Regions from separate parts of the Homo sapiens genome. Here all the other regions are linked to region 2. Evidence: promoter capture Hi-C in human tissues and cell types (Jung and others, 2019). All regions are on one chromosome and are shown on one strand. Each heading gives the region's core, a stretch centred on a gene start or on the middle of the fragment in contact. The rest is flanking DNA. Distances are from core to core; before and after follow the strand shown.

What was found. Contacts are between HindIII fragments. The study calls those that stand out against the background at their distance.
Region 1: a contact is called between a fragment that was not itself captured here and the fragment with the promoter of TPGS2 in region 2, in 3 of the 25 tissues and cell types used here (aorta, dorsolateral prefrontal cortex and thymus).
Region 3: a fragment that was not itself captured here is called in contact with the fragment with the promoter of TPGS2 in region 2 in 2 of the 25 tissues and cell types used here (dorsolateral prefrontal cortex and mesendoderm cells).
Region 4: a fragment that was not itself captured here is called in contact with the fragment with the promoter of TPGS2 in region 2 in 1 of the 25 tissues and cell types used here (dorsolateral prefrontal cortex).

What each region holds. Positions count from the first base shown.
Region 1 is chr18:37,238,905-37,243,132 of GRCh38, reverse strand. It overlaps CELF4 (CUGBP Elav-like family member 4), which reads left to right. Exons shown (of 13, transcript NM_020180.4): 13 at 1-93. Among named protein-coding and RNA genes, the nearest start is that of SNORA111, 230 kb to the left of the region's middle. The HindIII fragment of the contact is 8,692 bases long and covers 1-4,228 here.
Region 2 is chr18:36,827,042-36,831,261 of GRCh38, reverse strand. It overlaps TPGS2 (tubulin polyglutamylase complex subunit 2), which reads left to right and starts at 2,260. Exons shown (of 7, transcript NM_015476.4): 1 at 2,260-2,579. The coding sequence starts at 2,495. KIAA1328 reads right to left here and starts at 2,135. Exons shown (of 10, transcript NM_020776.3): 1 at 2,066-2,135. The coding sequence starts at 2,123. RefSeq lists a silencer at 1,901-2,500 and enhancers at 1,898-2,690, 2,791-2,900. The HindIII fragment of the contact is 11,405 bases long and covers 1-4,220 here.
Region 3 is chr18:37,175,557-37,180,113 of GRCh38, reverse strand. All of the region lies in intron 9 of KIAA1328, which reads right to left. Among named protein-coding and RNA genes, the nearest start is that of SNORA111, 290 kb to the left of the region's middle. RefSeq lists a silencer at 4,054-4,348. The HindIII fragment of the contact is 3,747 bases long and covers 1-3,503 here.
Region 4 is chr18:37,258,884-37,263,107 of GRCh38, reverse strand. CELF4 (CUGBP Elav-like family member 4) reads left to right here. Exons shown (of 13, transcript NM_020180.4): 11 at 3,844-3,927. Among named protein-coding and RNA genes, the nearest start is that of SNORA111, 210 kb to the left of the region's middle. The HindIII fragment of the contact is 7,935 bases long and covers 1-4,224 here.

The sequences.
Region 1 (4,228 bases), core at 485-2,984, 410 kb before region 2:
ACACTCAACTCCCTAAAACTCCTTGTAACCTTCTGTAACTATTGGATGACGCTTTCTCCAGCTTAGCCCTAAATAAAGCACAGTTTAAAAAAATATTTCTTCATTGGTCTGTGCCTCTCGGACTCTGGCCAGCTGTGCCTCACAGCCCCAAGGCTTGCCCACTGGAAGTAGCTTTGGTCCTCTTTATGGAATCTGCCACACAGGCCCTCGTTCTGAGCCTCAGCATGTGAGGCTCTTCTGGGAGGTGATGGGAACAATAAAAGGAGGTCCTGTTCCACTCTAGGAAGAATCTCTCTGGACTGGTGTGTGTCTCTGAAAGTCCCCACTGCAAATTCATTCTTCTGGGTTCCTGGCAGAGGTGGCCACAGTGTCCAAGCAGAACAGAAAGGAGGCTACCTAGGCCACCCGACCTGAAGGCCGAGCAAGTGTTGGGTTGGGGGGGGAAGTTATGTGACACCTTAGGGAAGGAGGCAGTGGAGGGAAGAGGCCACAATAAAGGAAGAAGGATGAGGATGCAACTCCAAATTTACCAGCAAGCATCTTGCTCTTGGCCCCACACCTCCCGCTGCTTTGGCAGTTTGCAGGGATGGAGAAAACAGGATTCTGGGCCCTCAGTCAGGGTCCTGGTGGGGGCAAGGATGTAGAAAGAAGAGTAGGGGCCCTCCCCTGGGGCGTTTCCTGGCATGCTGCCTGTCCTACACTTAGATACGAGCTGGAGAGAGGTGTCCAGACCCTGAATGCCAGGGTGGGAGGGAAAAGCATTCCGAAGGAGGAAGAACACCACGCAGGACTTGGAGAGGGGCGGCAGGCCTCTGGAGAGGAGAGCCCAGACAGCTGCACACCAGCTGCATGCCTTCACCCAGTCCTGGCCTGGGACAGACCTTCTCAATCTTCACTATCCCACCTCCTTCCCTTCCCCTGCCCTCAGCTCTGCAGTCTGGTCTAGGAACGGGCAACTCTTTCCCAGGGCCCCCACCTCTCTCCACTGCTGAGACAGGAGGGCTGCCAAGTGAGGGGCAGGGAAGCTGCAAGGTTCAGATGCCTGGAGGAGAGAAGACAAGGCCCCAGAAACAAGGGTCATTGACTGCCTGTCAGTCTGTGTCCCCCTGTGGGAGATGGGGAAATGGCTTCGGTCCCCACCTGTCTCCTCTGAAGGAGGGTATGGAGAGTAGAGCTCAGAGCCCCAGCTACAGAGCAGTGCCTGGATCCCATGCTCCATCCTCTCCTCCCATCTCTCTTTTCAGGGCCAGGGGCCAAATCTGTGCTTCTGATGTTGGCCTGTGATGCATTAGGCTGGAGAGAAAGATCTTCGTGTATCAGCAAATAAGGGAAGGCCTTCCAGCCTTGACCTAAATGTGGACATGGTTCCGAGAGAGGGACTGAGGAGACCCTGAATGTCCCCTAAACTAACCCCCTTTTGCTGTTCAACAGGGCTGCAAGTCCAAGTGACAGCCTGCTGTGTCCATTCTAGGGAGCTGCACTTCTTGGAAGAATTAGCTTCAAGGGGCTGGATGTCAGACTGGGTATTATTCTGCCCTGAGAAGAATGGAAGGTGTTTTCTAAGAAATTCTCTGGGGAGTGGGGAGGTGTCTTTAGGTTTTGAGCCTCCGACTAGTCAACACGGTGATTTCTGTTGCATACCTGCAGCTGAAAGAGGACAGCCTCAACCCCCAGCACCCCCTCTTACTCTTTCAGACCCCAGGAAGCCTCCCAGAGATCCCCAAGTGACCTCCCCAGACCTCTCCTGTTTGTGTCCACCTCCCCACTGTGTACCCTTGTCTCTGGGACATAGCCCTCCCCTACCTCCACTTAAAGTGTTGTAGCTAAGGGCTTAGGCACCCTGGGAGCTGTCACCAGAGAGATGGGCTGTGAAGCCAGCCAGGCAATTTCGCCCTCTTCCGGGTATGGCTGACTGAGAGGGGAGCTGACAACACTGGAGCCAGATATGAACATTCCAGTTCTATAAAAGAAACCTTCAATGTAAAAACCACGCACCAGGTGACTGATACATGCATAGCACACTTAAGAGAGAATACAATTTATTAACCTCTGGGGAAAAGAGATTCCTTGAAAACTTGCTGGAAACTACTGGATCACTTTGCACATGATTATGGAGAGAGAGCTCAGGGATCCCTGCAACTCATCCATCACTCCCTGGTTAAGAACTCCTGATTTGCAATGTTAGTTAAGAGAACCCAAGACAAAATTCTTGTTGATTTCTGCTTCTATTCTATGGCTTTTATTCCTTTGCTATTATCCTATATGCAGTGTGTGGCTTCTTCATAGCACCCCTATTTGTAAAAGACCTTTTGCTTATTATTAGAAACTTTTTATTTCAAGCACAAGAAACAAGAGTAGAGACACTTGCCTAAGGAATCCCTTAGGCAAGTACTCACTACCTAGCTTCAGCATACCTCAACTCCAACAGTAGTTTGACAAAAATCCCAGGTATCAAGTCATTTCATTGCTAAATGCCTCCACTTCCCCTTAATGTTTTCCATGCTGCATTGATGTCTGCCAGCTGGCTCTGGCCTGTTGGGCATCTGTAACCTTGCTGTGGCAGCCGCTGGGGAACTTGGCCTTCATAGCCTCACCACAGCCTTATCCTGGGGTGGAACTGGCTCCTGGTGGGAGCCCCAGGCTTCTCTCCAGCACCTCCCCAGGGCAACTGCACCTGTTCCCAGCAGCACTTTCAAAGTCCTTCCAGCTCTTCCTCCAAAGCTTTGTAGTCACAGCTTCTCTTTTCTCTTTCTTCTCCTTTTATCCTCCTATCTCTGTGATGCTAGTATGAAAAAGTTATGTTTATATGAGACTTTTCATTTAATGCTCCCATCTCCCTCTGTGTTTTTCTAAAGATCTGACCTTTTTCCTGTTCTGAGCAGGATTACACCTCCGTCCCTCATGCTAAGCACTGGTAGAGAGAAACACAAGACATACTAGAGCTTCCCCACTCATGCAAGCACTGCCAAGGCCTCCATCCTCCAGGACTGCTGCTAGTCATCTGGGCAAAGCTGCAGATCCCCATAGCACAGGGTCTGCAGGGCTAGTGTTTGAATTACAGTGGATAAAACACAGATAAACATTCCCCACCTTGCTTGCCCACTTGGTAAAGTGGATAAGGGACATATGGCAGTGAGCTTAGGAAGCCCAGCCCAAAGTGACAGCATCAGACTTGGCTGTGAATGCCATTTGACTATTTACCCAAATGGAACCCACCCCCAAATAAAAATTATTAGCTACCATTGATGTACTACCTTCAACAGACTAGTGAGTTCTGGAAGTTGGATATTCAGTCAATATTGATTCATTCCTGCATTAATGAGTGAATAAGGAAGGAAGGAATGGACAAATTACGGACAACTGAAGGCATGTCCCAAAGAGGCAGCTGTTCTGGAAATACTCTTTAAGTAGTGACAGCACGTGGAATAAGTGTATAGTCAACACACCCTCCCATCCCCAGATAAATGCTTGCAAGTATAAGATTTTTATTTTAACTTTCTAGTTTCCTCCCCCTACTGACCCTCCCTCCATTTCTCTAAGCTGCCCTCCCTTCTCTCCTCAAGTTCTCCCCTTGGTTACCCCCCAGTCTCTGGTCCCCAACACTCCCAGGTGCCCCGGGACTTGCTAGTGACAGAGTGGAAGCCTGGAGAGCCAGCATCAGCTCCCCAGGGCCCTCTGTATCACCCTTTCTCCCTCTTCCTGCCAGCCTAACTGTTTGCCTCTTCAGGAAACTCTGAGCATCTCCATCTCTGCTTCTGCCCTTTGTGGAGCTCTAACCAGGACTTTCCCAGACTAGCAGAGGAGATGGAAGGATTAGGGTATCAGAGTGAAAAAGGCATGGACTTTGACTTCAGACCAGGATTAAAATCACAGTTCTCTCTAATACCTTCTGTGTCACTTTGGAAACATTACTTAACCTCTCTGAGCCTCAATTTCCTTATCTCTAAAATGGGGATAATATCATCCCCGAGAGTGTTGAGAAGTGAACAAGAGACAGCCACACTCAGCTACATTCCACCCCAAGGATTATCAGAGTGGCAAATTTCTTACAGCATAGATACTCAGAATGAATGGCTCAGGCTGCGATCTCATCCTCCTTCCCTTTTCTTAATTCCATTCTATTGACAATCCACCTCCCAACAGAAGCAAACTTGAACTTGACACAAGACCATTTTAGGTCATTTTTTTGTGAAGTCCAGTCAGCATATGCCACTCCCAGAGAATTCCT
Region 2 (4,220 bases), core at 1,011-3,510:
ACATCAAGGACTAAGAAATCTCTCCATCACATTTCTCTAAATGTTTAGGTGAAGTATTGAAAATCTTTTTTCAATAGTGTGAAAAGAATACCAGATTATAGGTACTTACTTTTTGGTCTTTTTCTATTGAAAATTCTACTATAAAGGCTCTAGGGTGGTCTGGGAAATAATCAATATGACAAAGGAATCAAGATGCAAAGACATGTAACTAAATCAAATGATTAATAACTATCATTATGCTTTTCAGCAAATATTCAGTAACAAATTTACATTTGACATTGCTTACAGTGACATTCTCTATGGAGATTTAAAATGAAAATATCTGAGGCTCGATGTTAACTGGTCATTACGTGGAATAGTCTGAGGGGAAAGGTGACACTAGCAACTTTGCAATTCCTTTCATACATCTGAATTAGATCTTATAGGATATAATCGCCACCATTTTTCCCCTGTACAATTTCAATTCCTCACTATCTATGAGAGGACGAATATTTTACATTAAATGTTGGGAGTCAGAATACAAGAGATAACGGAGTATATATGACTTCTACATAAAATAGGGGGTGATATAACTACATGAGTAAGTGAAAGTACTGGGTGCGAAGACCAAGAGCTTAGGTTCAGTCCATATATCTATTAATACACTTATTCAGTCCCATTGCAATAGCTTGTCCCCCCCCCAAACCATTGATTCTATATTTGAACAGTACCATAGGATGCTATAAGCTAATAACCTTCAAGTATCTCCTCCATCACAAAATTATGTCAATGCAGAAGCAGTGTTTCTTGAGAAAAGACTTATCCCAATTTCCTAACTTCCTAATTCAGCCCAGTTGTCCACAGTGCACATATTCTCTTCTGAAAGGTAAAGGAAAAAATATTTAATTTGCACACTGCACTAGTATGCTTTCATCCACAGTGTATGTACATGATTTCATTTGCTTTTCACCAACCTATCAGAGACAAATGGTAATTATGTCTAGTAAGTGCAAACACTAAACACGAGCAGCACAGAATACAAACATATCCCTCTCTCTACACATGACACTAATCCTAGTAACTCAACAAAGGAGTTGATAACACAGTTTTGTAAGTTTCACTGGGAGCTAAGAAGAATGCCCAGTGATTCTGCCAAAGGTAACAGCAACGCCTCAATTAATGCCATCACCAATCCTAGCAAACACAAAAAGAGCTGCCTCTGCAAGCACTCAGTAACACAGATTGCCGTCCCTCTTTCAAGTAACCCCTCTAAGGAACGTGAAGTAAATTATCAGGACCAAAGCTCAAGCGAGAAGAGTCTACCTACTCCAAGGAAAGAAACACTCCTGTCACACAAACATCTCATCACTGCTGCTGAACTGGTAATACTACCACTGGACTAAAAAGTTCCACTGCTTCTCCACCTCACAACGATCCAAGAACTTCAATGACTGCCAGTGACCCGCACTCCACAAGTAAGTCAACAATACTTCCAGGCACAATGATTCCCATCTTACGCAGTAACCAGCACCACCAGACCACATCCCAGTAACCAAGCTCCACACCTCTCCTAAAACCCCAGTATTAAAATACATCATCACTGGAGGGCCTTTTAAGTCCGAAAGGTCCTGACTTGCTCCTAGCAATGCAGACTAAAGACAATCCTAAATCAAAACAAAAAGGCTCCCTGTCCAGCCAACACCGACTCCTCCCTCAACTTCGAGCTAGCTCCGCACACTCAAGTCAGCCTGGGGGCACTCTGACAGGGTGGGCAGAGGGACCTCGGAGGGCCATCTCAGCCCTGGACTGAGCCTGGACTCAAGGCTATCTTTCTCGAGCTCACCGGTAGTGAGCGCTGGGAAGCATCTGAGCCGTGTCCCCACACCTGCAGACAGTACCAGTCTCTCGGCCACCTAACACCCAAGCAAGGGGAGAGCCCAGCACCTAGACTGGGGCCGAGCAGCACGTCCCCATCCCCGGGGTTAGTTCGGAGCTTCTCCTCCGCTCTCGGACTGCCACGCGACGGCTCGCCCCTCGCCGTCCCGTGGAGGGCGCCGGCGCCCCCTGTCAGGCGGGCAAAGGATACAGTCCCGGCTCCAGAACGCCGCGGCACTGGGGCGGGAGGGGCCCGCCACGTCCGCCATCTTGAAACAACCGCCACTCGGGGCGTCGCGCCTGGGCCGCCACGCCTCGGCCTGCAGGCTCGGTCCCCATTGGCCGCACCACGCAGAGGCCCGCCCCCGCCTGCGCGGCCGGCCCCTGCGGGGCGAGAGGGTGGGGGCGAAGGGGAAGCTACGTCCCGGAGGTGCGGTGTGGGGCACCGGGCGGGGCCGCGGGAACCGGCGCCCCACGGAGCTGCTGCTGTCAGACCAACCCCGGGCCCCCATCATCACTGCGCCGCGCTTTCAGGCGCCGAGAACTACCGTTCCCGGCATGCCATGAAATTGGCCTCGGCGCTGAGGCGGGGTCCGGCCCTCCACCCGCTCCCGCCGCGCGCGAATCGCGGTCGCGAGCCATGGAGGAGGAGGCATCGTCCCCGGGGCTGGGCTGCAGCAAGCCGCACCTGGAGAAGCTGACCCTGGGCATCACGCGCATCCTAGGTGAGGAAAGGGGGCACGGTGCCGAGAGGGTGTGGAGGAGAAGGAAGGAGGAGCGGAGGGATGAGGTGCGGGGTGAGCGGTGCGACGCTGGCCCCAGAACAGGAGTGGACATCGCTGCTGGGACTTCCGTTGTTACAGAGGAAAGTGGGGGACCTGGGTTTGTGATTAGGCCTTGAAAGTGTTTGCCAGGAGTGTTCGGAGGCAGAGCTGGGAAGCCTGAAGTTTCCCCCACTCACCGCCAACCAAGGTCCCACCCAGGAAGGACGGGCAGAGACGTGCAAAGGGAACACAGCAAGCACCTGACGGTTGGGAAGTTGGATCTCCCCCTAGGAGGCATTCTCAGCCAGGGCATTATCCCCGAAACCCAAGACCTTTCTCTGGGGGAAGTAATGCACCCGACCTCCCAGGGCGACAACTACGTCGGGTCTGAAAGGAATCCAACCTTGCACCACTGAATGACTCAGAGTTTTTCTTTTATCGAACATTTCTTTGTTTGCTTGCTTGTTTGTATTTTGAGACAGAGTTTTGCTCTTGTTGCCCAGGCTGGAGTGCAATGGCGCGATCTCGGCTCACTGCAACCTGCGCCTCCTGGGTTCAAGCAATTCTCCTGCCTCGCCCAGCTATTTTTTTGTATTTTTAGTAGAGACAGGGTTCCACCATGTTGGCCAGGCTGGTCTCGAACTCCTGACCTCAGGTGATCCACCCGCCTCGACCTCCCAAAGTGCTGGAATTACAGGCGTGAGCCACCGCGCCTGGCCTATCAAACGTTTCTTTAGTACTCACCACTATGTTAGACGTGAGGTTAAAAATATGAAAAAGACACAGTTCTGTGAAAAAAATAAACAAATGAGGTCACTAGGAGTGTGAAAAGAGGTCAGTAATCTGTTACTCAGAGATGTCACAGAGGAGGGGACTGATCTTACCAGGGAAGTTAAAGAACATGTCACAGAGGAGATGATGCTAGATTTTGAAAGACATATAGGAGTTAGCCAGAAAACTAAGGAGGAGAAAGGTCTTTTAAGAAGGCTGAAAAGCATGCTTCAGTGCCTTCCCATCACAATTATAATAAAATCCAAATGTCTGTACCATGACCCACAAGTCCCTGTAAGATCTGCTCTCATCTCTTTCTGACTTTGTTTCCACTCTTGCCCACATGGCCTTCTAGCTGTACCTTAAACACACTAAGCGGGTTCCTGCTTCAGGGCTTTTGCAGTTTGCTAGTCCTTGCACCTGGAATTATCTTTCTCTGAATGTCTCGCTTCTTCAGGTCATTCAGATCTCTGATCAAATGTCATTATTTCAGAGAAACCTTCCCTGAATATAGTTCGAATAACCGCCGTCTTTCTTGCTCTCTCTTTCCTTACCCTGCTTTTTCTTTTATTCTTATAGCACTTTCACTACTTGAAATTATGTATTTGTTTGGTTGATTTTTAAAATTTGTGTCTCTTTTAATAGAAGTCCAAGACCAAGTGTGATTTAGGAATGAGTGGTTTTAACATATGAAAATCAATTAATAGCTGGGCATGGTGGCCCATGTCTTTAGTTCCAGCTACTGGGGAGGCTGTGGTGGGAGGGTTATTAGAGCCCAGTTCAAGTCCAGCTGGACAACATAGCAAGACCCTGTCACTAAAAAAAAAGAAA
Region 3 (4,557 bases), core at 381-2,880, 350 kb before region 2:
ATAAAAATGTGTGTGTGTGTGTGTGTGTGTGTGTGTGTGTGTGTGTGTGTGTGTGGCTTTTGAATCCCATGGCAGCTGTCAATCCAGAATTCTGTAGCTGAGATAAAATAGATCACTGTTACAATCAAGCAGATCATATTTATGTGACTTTCCCTTCTCTTCAATTTGAATGGTTACTGGCAGTGTGATATGGGAAACGAAATAGTGTCTGACCTGCTCAATGGGCTAAAGCCTTGGTTTATAACCCACAGAGAATCAAGAGTAACATCCTCTTTGTGGCCCAGCAAAGGAAAAAAACACCATCAGTTGTTCTGGTACTTTAAAGGCTGTGCCATCATATCTGGAGCTGGAAGCAATTGGATTTTCATGTTAAGTTACTTAAGATAACAATAAAGATAAATAAATAATGTATTCACAACAGAGAGAAGATTCCTTCCAGACTGGGATTGGTAGAGTATGGTCCCAGGTTTCAGATACTTCTGAGCCTAGTTCCTGGCTCTCAGTCTCAGTGGGCCAAAGATCACACAAGCCACCTTCTAGTCAGCTGTGTTTAAACAGCTGCCTTGTGAGCATGGCTGTGCACAGGCAACTGTACTATAGAAAGCTCAGCAAGGCATGAGCTTACAGCAAAATTTTCAGAACACATTAAACATATGGTTGACAGCAAAGCAAGGTTTTAAAAAAACTCAAACTAAACTATTAACACAATAACATGGAAATAAATCTATGTACTTACAGCCAACTGATATTTGACAAAGGTGTGAAGAACATACAATGGAAAAAGGACAGTCTTTTCAATGCTGGGAAAACTGGATATCCACATGCAGACATGCAGAGAGTGAAACTAGACTCCCTATCTCTCATCAGATACAAAAATCAAATCAAAATGGATTAAAGGCTTAAATGTAAGTCCTGAAACTATGGAACTACTGGAAGCAAACAAAGAGGAAAAGCTCCATGACATTGGTCAGGAAAATGCTTTCCTGGATATAGCCTCAAAAGCACAGGCAACAAAAGCAAAAATAGACAAATGGGATTACATCAAAGCTTCTGCACAGCAAAGGACACAATTAACAGAGTGATGAGACAACCTGCAGAATGGGAGAAAACACTTGCAAACTATCCATCTGATAAGAAGTTACTATGCAAAATATATAAGGAACTCAAACAACTCAATAGCAAGAAAATAAAGTGACTAAAAAAATAGGTTAAAGACCTGAATAGACATTTCTCAAAGGAAAACATTAAAATGGCTAACGGGTACATGAAAAAATTCTCAAAATCAATAATCATCAGGAAAATACAAATCAAAACCACAATGAAATATCACTTTGCTCCTGTCAGAATGGCTGTTACCAAACGGACAAGACAAGTGTTGGCAATGATTGGAGAAAGAAAACTCTCATATACTATTGGGTCGGAATGTAAATTAGTACAGCCATTATGAAAAATAGTATGGATGCTCCTCAAAAAATTACAAAAAGAACTACCATATGATCCAACAATCCCACTGCTGGGTATGTATCCAAAGGAAATGAAACCGGTATGTCAAAGAGATATCTACACTTCATGTTTACTGAAGCACTCATAATAGCCAAGATATGGAATCAACCTAAGTGTCCATAAATGGATGAATGGATAATGAAAATGTGGTATATATACACAGTGAATACTATTCAGCCATAAATAAGAATGAAATCCTGTCATTTGTGGCAACATAGATGAACCTGAAGCATATTATGTCAAGTGAAATAAGCCGGGCACAAAAAACAAATACTGAACTGGTTGACTTGGCCTCAATTGCTTTCCAACAAGCAATCTCACTTGTATGTGGGATCTAGAAACGTTGATCTCATAGAAGCAGTGAGTATGATAGTGATACTAGAGGCTAGGAAGAGTGGGAGGTGGGGACATGGGGAGAGAGGGGTCATTGGGTACAAAGTTACAGTTAGATAGGAGGAATAAGTTCTGATGTTCTATTGTGCAGTAGGGTGACTATGGCTAACAATATTGCATTTTATTAGGTTGGTGCAAAAGTAATTGCAGTTTTTGCCATTATTTTTAATAGAAAAAAAACCACAATTACTTTTGCACTAACCTAATGTATTTCAAAATAACTAGAAGAGAGGATTTTGAATGTTCTCACCATAAAGAAATGATAAATGTATGAGGCGATGGATGTGCTAGATTCTCTGATTTGATCATTACACAATATATACATGTATTGGAACACCACAATGTACCTCATAAATATGTGTAATTATGATGTGTCAATTAATAAAAATAAACTATTTTTTAAAAGCCCCCAAATAATTTATCAAGTCCCTCAAAGTATGTACTCAAGTATTTCCCAAATCCTGTCAAGAAAAAAGAAGCTTCACAAAATCAACACCTCTCCCCACCAGTAACTCAAAAAGAAACAAAACAAAATAAAACAAAACAAAAACCTTTAACGCTTTTGTGTTGTCATTAAAAACTCATCTTTCTTTAAAAAAAAAAGCTAAAAAAGTGAACAGTACATCCTAGAAACAGGCTAATTCCAGTTCCAGTTCTGAAAATTCACTAGTTGGGCGTGATTTGGTGAAATCTCCCTTTCTTTCTTCACATCTTACACACAGACACACAAAGGCACAGGGAGAGCACCAGCTGTAACTGTTTGTAGAAGTCATAGAAGAACAGAAAGAAGTGACCTTAGTAACCTTTTACTTCAGGGACTGAGAATCTAATCCTGCTACTGTAGGCCTGGTGTGCCTCTGCTTATCAGGGTCCAACAATCACTGTGTCACCATATGACTGAAAAATACAAACTCCACCAATATTTTTAAAGGTGACAAGATTTCTGTTGCATTGAGCAATCTCAGAAGATACTATCTTCATTTTAATATAAAATGTATCAGATCTACACATCTGAATAGAAAAAGACACCAACATATCAAGGATATACAGCTGTAATAGGCCTTCTTTCCCAGTCAAATTTGAAATAAAAGACCTGAAGATCCAAGGCTACATTAATGCAAATTCTGCCTGTTGCAAGTATACTTTTTGATTAAATTGGCATACATCAAGTACAATTAGAAAGGCTATTTATAACGAAGAAATACATAATTCTGCATCTTAATGTAGATGACAATTACAGCTGATGGTTGCTAATTATCATTACTTCTTTTGCTTTGAGTGTTATATATTTCCTGTATGATCTTTATTGTTGACAATGGACACACCTAATTCTAGAAGGCACAAAATGGTTAATTATCAGTTATATCTGTGCTCATAACACATTCATTTGAGAAGCAAATGGTAACTTGCCCAGCTCTGGCTTCACACTGGAGACTAAAGGATCAAGTAGACTTGGTAAACTCTGACTCATTCATTTGGTAGGAAAGGTATTTATTTAAGTTTCTTTTAGAGCCAAGGCTCACCTACCCTGAGGTGTTCAGAATGACAGGGAGAAAGCCCCTCAACTCCTCTTTCCAGGTGGAGTGGTCTGTGGGGCATTGCTTGTTCCATTCAAGCAGAAATGAATGGTACATTTAATTCAGCTTCACCACCCTCTTGTGCCAAGATGACCACTGTGCTTATTCTCTTACGCAGCTTAGGGGTGTGTGATCAGTGTGGAGAGCCAGAAGTGAAATGGAGAGAAAGAAACACTGCAGCTTTCAGCACAGAAAACTATAATGCCCCCTTTGCTTATGCTGTAAATTACATATTTATTTTGTTAGCATGAGATAGATGAATATTTCTACATACAAAGGTGCCCAGCTAAAATCAGGATAAGTGATATTGATGTCTTATGGTCAGTATTATTGAACCTTAAAAGCAATAAACTTTATGAGTTAATAAATATTATATTTGCAACATAGTTAACATTCCTTTACTGTCTCTAGCACTTATTACACATTGTAACTGCAAGTCTACAATACATTATTCATATTTGGGGTGTCACCAAGTGATGGATTGCTGTAGGAGAGGTTGTCCTTTAAATAAATCAACAAATAAAAATGCAAATGTTAACATTTTCAGCCACAACTTTTTCCATCTTGAATGGGGAATGAAAATTTTACATAATATTGACAGCCAGCAGTGAGAACAATTAACAACCAACACTGTGAATGAGAAAGATGACTCTGCCACACCTGTTTTTTTCACCTGCACATGGAATGAAATGGAACTCTTCTAGGTATTTTCAGAGAACAAAGGAAAACCTGTCTCCCACTGGCATCTGTCTCACCCCCATCCTTGTTTGCAGGTCTTGAAAATTCTTGGAATTTAAGGTGGACAGGGGAAGAGCTTTTACTCTTGTTCCCTTTGGTACTTTCAAAGGTTTGTTGAGATAAAGAACAATAGGCTCTTCTCTTACATTAAGAGTTTGCATGTGACTGATATGTAGTCTATTTAAAAAAATGTCTTTTCTACACTTTGAAATAAAAACAGTACAAATAATCCTGATTCTGAAATCTGGAAAGCCACCACTATGCCTTCTTGGTAACTGATTTTCATAGTACTCTGATTTTTTTTTTTTAACTCTGCAATTCGTGTAAGAGACCTGTATGATGTCAT
Region 4 (4,224 bases), core at 1,324-3,823, 430 kb before region 2:
GTCTGCCCCCAAACTCCATTCTCAGTGCACACTGCCCTTCCTTTACCAAGCTACCACCCCTTCCAAGGCTGTGCATGAGGCATACCACCCCAGCTCACACCCAGCAGGCAACTTCTGAGATCAGGGGCATCAGGGCTTCCCATGCCCAGGAAAGCCAAGTTACAGGAACCCAGAGGGGTGCACAGGAAGGCCCAGCCCATACCCTGCCTCACGCTGCTGCAGCTGAGGGACACTGGGCTACCACTGGTGAAGTGGGGGTGGGGGTGGTCCCCTCATCAGGCTGCAGCCCTGGGCCTGCCTTGCCCTTGCCTTCCCCACAGTCCAAGCCTTCATCAGTAAGACCAGGGCCACAAGGGGTGGGGTCCAGGAGTCCCCATGTTGCCCGCTCCAGGTCCAGAACAGAGAGCTGTGCCTACAGGCCCTGATATCTTTTCTCCCACTGGTGCCATTGTCAGCTCCCTGAATCACTCTGGCCTATTGGCTCAGGGGTCTCTAAATCCTGCCCCACCCTTCACACAGCCGTAGGTCAATGGCACCCTGCCCAACACACATGACAGCCCCTACTGCAGGCCTTAAACTGAGGCCCCCATGGGCCCTCCTGCCCCTCTCCCACCCTACACTCCACCATCCCATATGTGTAGCTCTGAACTCCTCCTCATTCCTTCTCTCCATCTCTGAGCAGCTGCAATTCCTGCCCCCCCCTCCCCCACCCCACACACACACCTTGCTCCCTAGTCTAGGCCCTCTGTGGCCAGTCCTGGCTCCAGCCTCTCCTTGGGGTGGCAGGATCTGCTGCTATTGTCCCCATTCTCCCAGGCCATGGTCCATGGGTTGAGCCACCCCAGGGATGCAGGGGATGGGGAAGAGTAATGCACGATACCAACAGAGCCGCACAGCATGGGCGGGTGAGAGCGCGGCACTGGGAGTGGTTTGTCAGGAAGGCTTCTGTGGGTCTGGAAGGATGAGCAGAGGTTGGCAGCACATAGAGCTGGGGAGGCAGGAGGTCCAGGCAGGGGGAACAGCGGGATTAAAAGTGCAGCTGCTGCAGAGTCCAAGGTGAGCATGGGGCCAGGGAGAGACAGGCGCAAGGTGGGCTGGAGCCTGGCCAAAGCCGTGTCCCACAGAGTTGTCCGAGTCATGAACAAGAAAGAAGGCTGTGTTCCTCCAACCCTGCCAAGAGTTGGCTTCTTTATGTCATGGTCCCCTCCCCATGTGGAATGTCATGGAAATACCAGGATATTCTGGTGGCAGGGGAGGACCCTTCTGCCACCTCCTCATCTTTGAGCTGAGCCTGAAAACAGACAGATGCCTGAATTCCCCAGAGGCCATCTGCCCCACAGATGGGATGAGGTTGCCCTCAGGGATGGCTGCCGCAGCGGCTCTGCCAGGGCTGCAAGGTGGTCAGGGGTAGCCGCTTTCTGTCTCTGCAGCTCCGCTTCACCATTTCTCAGAAGGCTGGGCTGGACCACATTGGTCTCTAAAGTCCTGCCAGCTCTGCCATCTGCATGTTCTGTAATCTGTGAATGAGGGAGTGCAGAAGGGCTTGGCGGTAGCTGGAGTTAGACAGCGTGTGGGCTCACTGTCCAGGGGAAGGGACTAGAGCTGCTGCCCTGGCTTCTTCGTCAGGCCTGGGCTAGAGAGTCATCCCTGGGGCTCCGCCACACACCGCGCATGTGGGATTGAGCCTGCGGGCCCTGTCTGTGAAGGCTCCTTATCTCTAAGGAGAACAGATGTAGCTTCCACATAAAGCAGCTTGCAGAACTTGAACTCAGAGCCAGGGCCCCAAGTCAAGGCAGGTGTCAGCATGGGCTGGAGCAGTCAGGGCCTGGAAGAGTGAGGATGGGAGGAGGAAGGGAGGTGTGGGGGGGGCTGGAGGGGGCTGGGCAGGAGGACACAAGAAGGAGCATGCCCCTGGGAGCAGCCAGTCTGGTTGGAGAGAAAAACCTCTAGACATAAAAGAGAAAGAGCCCCACCCCAGAGGATGAAGTGTGGATTCGGGCATGAGCAGGGAGAGGCTGGAGGTTCTTTCAGAGAGGGAGGGTATGGGGAGCTGGGGGCCACCAAGGGCACATTCACAGGGCATGAACCAGTGGGAAGACAGCATGGTTGGAGGGGACAGGGTGAGGGGAGGGCCACCAGAGCTCGGGGGTATCCAGCACCAGGAACCCCTGGAAGGGGGTGAGGGAGCATGTTTGTGCCCGGTTCTGAATGCGCCGTCCCCCAGCAGGATGCCTGGGAGCCAGCAGTCCAGGGAGGGGAGGCCGAAGGGCTGGGGTGGGCAGAGGGCACAGGGCGAGCACCAAGGAGGGAGGAAGCCAGTGGCTCCTTGGGCAGCTTTAGGGGTTGGGGAAATTTTTGTTCTAGGCTGTGGACCTTGAGGGAATAGAGATAGATGGAGAAAAGGAGGAGAGTGGAAGGTAGAGGAGCAGAAGAGAAGGTGCAGAGTCTCTAAATCGAACCTTTACTCCAGAACTGGGTTGTCTGGCAGCCTCATGGCTCCCAGAGAACAAGGACGGTTGGCTCTGGCGTGAAAGCCATGCAGCGGCCCATGTTGGTGCCTTACAGCCTTCACTGTTGAGCTCATGCCTAGGTTTCCAGCAGCCTCTGGTCAGAACCTTGCTTCTTACACAACACTAGGTGCAGTTGGTTCCTTCCCATTCCCACCACAGCTTGGACACCATCATTGAAATGACCACAAGTCACTTTAAAAGATGAAATTATATGTGGCATATGCTATCTAAGACGCATCTTGGAACGATTTCCATTTTAAAGAGTTAAAATTGAGCATTTTGACTATTTCAAAAGAAACAGGTAAATGGTTAGTTATTGGGAATTTTAGAAAGCTAAAGCCCTGCATAGTGTTCAGGGGATCTGGGATATTGAGATTTTTGGTAGCAAGAGGGAAAGAATTCACTCTATGGAGACAGGCTAGGCTCATGTCCTGGCTCCAGGCCCCTCCCAGCTGTGCGTGTTTTGGCAGGTGACTTAACCTCTCTGGGCCTCACTTCCTCATCTGTGAAGTGGCAATGATGATAATAATGTCACAGGGTTGCTGTAAGGATTAAGTGAGTTAGAGACATGTAAAGTGCTCAGAACAGCCTGACACATAGTTTGTGCTGCTGAAGTCGCAGGGCTGTTACTGTGGTAACGAAATGAAGAACCTTCATGTCATGAGGCTGGAGGGTTCCCTGGCTAATCATAGAGCCTCAGTTGCAGCGCTTCCTACGCACCTACACAGGAGGAGGCAGGATAAATCTTGGTTTCCTGGGTGTGTGGAACTGGGCAGGACAGTTGGGCCATCAGGGGCAGATGAGAAAGAGAGGCTGCAGGCCAGGGGGAGGATGGGCACCCCAATCCCAGAGTCTGAGACTGGCCTGCGAGAAGGGAAAGTGGGGGGTCTCCCCAGCACAGGACTTGGCTGCCCCAGGGGATGCCCTGGTCCCCCCAGAGCAGGGGCAGGGCAGGAGGGAGGCCTCCCGGATCTCCTGGGCCTTCCCTATCTTCAGCACCTGGTTTCCAGAGACACAGCAGTAGGTCGACTCCGCCTCTGGAGCCCTAGGGTTTCTAAGCCTCTGCTACAGATCCATTTTATAGAAAAGGCAACTGAGGCACAGAGAGGTTCAGTGACTTGCCCAAGGGCAGAGCAGAGACCGGAGCTCAGACCCGGGGCTCAGCATCCCTGCCTCTTCTGGGGCGCCCTTGGATCTGGAATGAGACTCCCCCTCCTAACCTTGCCCCCACCCCTCCCTGCTGCGCTGCCTAACTCGCTCACCTCTCCTCTGTCTCTCTCTTCCCCCACCCTGCCATCCCTCCTCCCCCGCCCACCCCCTCCCCTCACCGCAGGGCCCGAGGGCTGTAACCTGTTCATCTACCATCTGCCCCAGGAGTTTGGGGACGCTGAGCTGATGCAGATGTTCCTCCCTTTCGGTAATGTCATCTCCTCGAAAGTGTTTGTGGATCGGGCGACTAACCAAAGTAAATGCTTTGGTGGGTAAAGATAACAAACCAATTAGCTTCACCTAGGACAGGGCGGTGCTCGCACCAACCTACCGGTGTCCGACTGCTTTTAACCTGCTCCTTCACATTGCCCCCGCCCCAGCTGCTCCATGGCCCTCACCAGCCTCATCTCACCCTTCTCTCTCCCACTACTCCTTTTGCTTCTTGGCTTTCCCTACCCACACAACCTGGCTCCCCATCTCCCACTCCCGGTCCAAGAAATGGGTT